Linked DNA regions of Homo sapiens: region 2 is linked to region 1. The links are contacts of gene promoters, found by promoter capture Hi-C in human tissues and cell types (Jung and others, 2019). All regions are on one chromosome and are shown on one strand. The core of a region is centred on a gene start or on the middle of the fragment in contact, and the rest is flanking DNA. Distances in the headings are between cores, read along the strand shown.

Region 1 (2,700 bases), core at 12-2,511:
ATAGATGTGGGCGTTTACGTAAACACAGAACTCTATCCCGAAGCAGACAAGAGACTCCCAGATTCCCAGGGGACTTGAACCAGGATATTACTAGCAAGTCATACTCCATTCCAGGTAGCAATGATACATTAGCTATGCAGAAAGTCATCGTTCTTCAACAAACCACTCTCATTTTAATTGCCACATTTTCATTATCCACATTAATCATTAAAATGAAAGTACCATCTCAACTCCTGTCGCCATGAACTCAACTAAAACAGGTAGACAAAATGGGGGAAAGGGAAAAGAAAAGGAAATAGAGAAGCATAGAGATGGTGACGTCTGAACACAAGACAGGAGCTGCTCCTTGGAAACCGGCTTCCTGGCGCTCTTCCCTCAGCGCTCCCTCCCGGGAAGGATGTGCTGAACCATAAACTTATTTCTCACAGCAACGTCTATCAGGGATGTTTCCTTCACAGGCCCAGTGAAAGGGCTGGCCCTTGACACCTCACAGACACCTGGCCTAAGCAGAGTGAGGCGGTCCAGGGACTTTCCATACACAGGCTGTGTCCTGAGGCTCTGCTCACCCCATACCCCTGCTCACCCCCACGGCCCTGCTCACCCCCACGGCTCTGCTCACCCTCACAGCCCTGCTCACCCCCACGGCTCTGCTCACCCTCACGGCCCTGCTCACCCCCACAGCCTTGCTCACCCCCACGGCCACCCAGGGCCCTGCTCACCCCCATGGCTCTGCTCACCCCCACAGCCCTGCTCACCCCTATGGCCACCCAGGGCCCTCCTCACCCCCATGGCTCTGTTTACTCCCAAGGCCATCCAGGGCCCTGCTCACCCCCACGGCCACCCAGGGCCCTGCTCACCCCCACGGCCACCCGGAGCCCTGCTCACCCCCACAGCTCTGTTTACCCCCACGGCCACCCAGGGCCCTGCTCACCCCCACGGCCAGCCGCAGTTGCTCCCGGCTGGGCAGCAGCACGAGGACATCCCTGTGTTCCGAGGCCATCGCGTCCATTCCCAGGGTCGGCTCCTGCTGACTGCATGCAGGCCTCTCAGGACTGGGTTCCATACATCGCGCCCCTGAAGGAGGGAACGTGTCAGGGTTTGTCCGGGCGGGGTCTATGCCCCTCCCTCTCGGGGGCACCGCCATGCTGTCGTTACTCGGCCCTCCCCCGCCATGGGTCGCAGGTGGGTGCTCAGCACCTCCCAGATCACAGCTGTGCTTTCCGGGACCCGCCCTTGCCGAGCTTCTCACTGGGAAGGGAATTGAGAGGGAAGCCTGGGCTGGGAATCCAGCATGGCCAAGCCAGGACAAGGGTCAGAGCTGCAAATAGCTGGGTGTGTGGAGGGCGCCAGGAATGCAAATAAACAACCTCAGGCTGGGCACCCGCCATGCAGCACTCCCATGCAGGGTAGCTCAGCAGCCAGCCTCGGTGTGGGCCCCGTGAGAACCAGGCTGGGGGAGACAGGACCCAACTCCTCCACCTGACAACCCCTATCTCCTCAGGGTGCCTGCTCCTTCTTCTATAATGTGGAGAGGGCTATGCAAACCCCATGGGCACAGATGCCAGAGCCAGGGCTGCTGGGGAAGATGGAGCAGCAGCAGGGCAGGACGAGGAGGGCGGGAGGAAGGCAGCCTGGGTGGGCACCCTGCCCCACACACCTCCTGTGGCATCTGTTATCGACCTCAGGAAGCAGCACAGCTGCCGTTCCTGGACAGGTTCTGCCAGGAGGGACCCTGGCTCCCTTTAGGGGCTGGAAACTGAGGACACTTCCTTCCTTGTCCAGGGCCAGCAAATCCCTTCCTGCCTGCAGCAGCTGGAAGGCCAGGAAGGGGGTCCTGGCTTGCGTGGACAGCAGCCGGGTGCATCAGCACGAGGGGTGGGGACATCTCCCGCAGGGCCTGGAACCCCTGAGGCCGCTCAGCAGAGATGAGCAACGCCTTCGAGCTCTTTGGCACAGTGTTAGGTGGGGAAGGGACCCCAGGATCCTGCCTGGCCCTGGGACCACCCAGACCTTTGGGCGCTGCAGGTCAGGAGAGGCAGTTCCCACGGGCCTGGGCTGTGGAATTCTGTCCTCAGCCGTGAGCTCCATCAGTTTCCTGCCATGGAGTCTGGGATGCTCTGGGACCTTCCTCTAGTAAGGGGTCTGGACCTCCGGACGGGCCGTTGTTCATCTTAGGAAATTCGCACTCCAGCCGCCTTAAGGCCTGGCCCGGTGGGTTTAGGAAATTCGCACTCCAGCCGCCCTAAGGCCCGGCCCGGTGGGTTGAGAAGATTTAGGAGGCTTAGGCCTCACCTCCCCCGGACCCTGGACTGACACTGGCTCCCTCCCTCCCTCCCTCCGCTCAGATCCAGACCCTTCCCAGACCCTCGAGGCCACACATGTGTGCCCAAGACAGCAGTGGCGGTCTCTTTTCTCTCCACAGCAAACGTAGAGCTGTTCACTATGGAAGATGTGGGGATCCCTTTAGCTGAGAGCACAAAAAGTTTTAAAAATGGCAAAAAAACCACAAAAAAAAACAGCCCCAGAGAGCAGAGGCTGGATCCTCATGGCCCTGTGCCACTGGCGCCTGAGCAGCTCGTCCCTGTGCCGGGTGCCCTCAGCCGCTGCCTGGAGTCACAGTGCCGGCGTATCAGGAAGGGCGGCAGCAGCTGCACCTCTCAGGATGCCTGGGCGCAGGACAGTGGCAGAGGGCAGGCAGGG
Region 2 (2,700 bases), core at 137-2,636, 270 kb after region 1:
GCAGCAGGAAAGAGAGAGAGCAAGAACAGGGAAAAGTGCCTTATACAACCTCCGGATCTCGTAAGAACTCACTCACTGTCACAGGAACAGCATGGGGGAAACAGCCCCTTAATCCAATCACTTCCCACCAGGTCCCTCCCTGAACACCTGGAGATTACAATTCAAGAAGAGGTGGGTGGGGACACACAGCCTGACCACAGCAGTGGCAAGAATCTACTCAGCATGAATTCCAAATGCTTCCTTCCCCGCAGTCCTCATGTTGTACACAAGACCTCCAGACACCTACATGTCTACATCTCTCCATGTTGTACACGAGATCTCCAGACACCTACACATTTGCTACATCTCCCCATTCCCCTCGCCCACCACGTCCCTGTAAACCACTGTTTTGTTCTTTCTGTATATTTGATTTAAAATATTTGTTTAGTTTCCACATGTGAGATTATGCAATATGTTTCCTTCTGTGTCTGGCTTATTTCACTCAGCAGAAGGATGTTCTGTAGGTTCACCCATGCAGTGGCAAAATGACAAGATCTCACTCCTTTTTAGGGCTAAATAATATTTCATGATGTGTATGTACCACAGTTTTTTTAAACCATTTGTCTGCCAATAGACACTTAAGGTTTTCTTCCCCCCCACATCTTGGCTGTTGTGAACAGTGCTGCAATAAACATGCAGGTGCAGACGTCTCTTTGAGACACTGGTTTCATGGATTTTGAATCTATATCCAGCAGAGGAAAGGCTGAGTCATATGGTGGTTCTTATTTTGAATTTTTTGAGGAAGCTTATACTGTTTTTCATAATGACTGTACCAATCTACATTTCCACCAACTGTGTACAAGAGGGAAAATTAAAAGCTTTTCCACCAAGATCTGCTATGAGGCAGGGATGCCCACTCTTGCCACTCTGTTCAACATAGCATGGAAGTCCTAGCAAGGGCAATCAAACAAGAAAAAGAAAGAAAAGGCATCCGCAGAAACGAGGAAGTAACATTATCTCCATCTGTAGAGAACATGATCATATGTGTAAAACACCTCAGAGTTCCACAAAATGAAACCAGTGTTAGAACTACTAAATGAATCCAGTTAAGTTGTAGGATATATAAATAATAACCTAGCTGAAAAAGAAATCAAGAAAACAATCCCATTTACAACACATAGAAATAAACAAAATGCCAAGGAATAAATTTAACCAAAGAGGTGAAAGATCTGTATGCAGAAAACGATGAAACATTGATGAAAGAAGTTTGAAGAAGACACAAATAAATGGAAGGATCTTGTGTTCATGACTTGAAATGATTAATATTGCAAAAATGTCCTCACTGCCCAAAGCAATGGACAGATTTAATTCAACCCCTATCAAAATCCTAGTGGCATTCTTTACAGAAATAGAAAAAAAAACTACAATGTATATGGAACATAAGAGACTCCAAATAGCCAAAACAAGAATGAGAAAGAAAAATAAAGTTGGAGGCATCACACTTCCTGATTTAAAATTATATTACAAAGCTATAGTAATCAAAACAGTACAGGACTTTCATAAAAACAGTCTCATGTACCAATGAAACAGAATAGAGAGCCCAGGAATAAATCCAAACATGGATGGTCCACTAGTTTTTGACAAGAGCACCAAGAGGACTCAATGGAGAAAAGTCAGTCTCTTCAACAAATGGTAATGGGAAAACTGGATTTCCATGTGAAAAAGAATGAAATTGGACCCTTATCTTACACCAAACAGAAAAATCAACTTAAAATGGATTAAAGACTTTGATGTAAAACCTGAAACCATAAAAATACAAGAAAAAAACAGAAGCTAAAAGCTCTTTAACATTGGCCTTGGCAGTGATTCTTGGATGTCACATCAAAAGCTCAGGCTACAAAAGCAATAAATAAATAAATGAATAAATGGGACTACATCAAACTAAAAAGCTTCTGCAAAGCAAGGGAAATAATCAACAAAATAAAACGGCAGCCCATGGATTGGGAAACCATAGACCTGATAAAGGGCTGTATGAGTCCATTCTCGCACGGCTATAAAGAAACACCTGAGACTGGGTAATTTATAAAGAAAAGAGATTTAATTGGCTCCCAGTTCTGCAGGCTGTGCAGGAGGCATGGTGCTGGCATCTGCTCAGCTTCTGGGGAGGCCTCAGGAAATTTACAGTCATGGCAGAAAGCCAACAGGGAGCTAGCATATGGCATGGCTGGAGCAGGAGAATGCCAGCACATGGCATGGCTGGAGCAGTGCTGGCATCTGCTCAACTTCTGGGAGGCCTCAGGAAACTTACAGTCACGGCGGAAGGCCAACAGGGAGCCAGCACGTGGCATGTCTGGAGCAGGAGAAAGAGGTGGGGGGAGGTGCCGCACACTTTTAAACAACCAGATCTCATGATAACTCACTCACTCACCATCCCCAGAACAGCACTGAGGGATGATACTACCCATTCATGAGAACTCTGCCCCCAAGATCTAATCACCTCCAATATTGGGGATTACAATTTAACATGAGATTTGGGTGGGACACAGAGCCAAACCATATCAAGGGTTAGTATCCAAAATGTATAAAGAACTCATACAACTCAATAGTAGAAAACCCTATTAAAAAATGGGCAAATGATCTGAATCGCCATTTTCTCCCAAGAAGACATAAAAATGTCCAACAGGTATAGGAAGAGGTGTTCAACATCAGTGGCCATCAGGG

Evidence for each region. Contacts are between HindIII fragments. The study calls those that stand out against the background at their distance.
Region 2: a fragment that was not itself captured here is called in contact with the fragment with the promoter of FRMD1 in region 1 in 2 of the 25 tissues and cell types used here (H1 embryonic stem cells and hippocampus).

The regions. Positions count from the first base shown.
Region 1 is chr6:168,077,951-168,080,650 of GRCh38, forward strand. It overlaps FRMD1 (FERM domain containing 1), which reads right to left and starts at 1,262. Exons shown (of 11, transcript NM_024919.6): 1 at 932-1,262. The coding sequence starts at 1,144. RefSeq lists an enhancer at 253-974. The HindIII fragment of the contact is 22,554 bases long and covers 1-2,700 here.
Region 2 is chr6:168,350,071-168,352,770 of GRCh38, forward strand. No RefSeq gene overlaps it. Among named protein-coding and RNA genes, the nearest start is that of DACT2, 32 kb to the left of the region's middle. The HindIII fragment of the contact is 3,485 bases long and covers 1-2,700 here.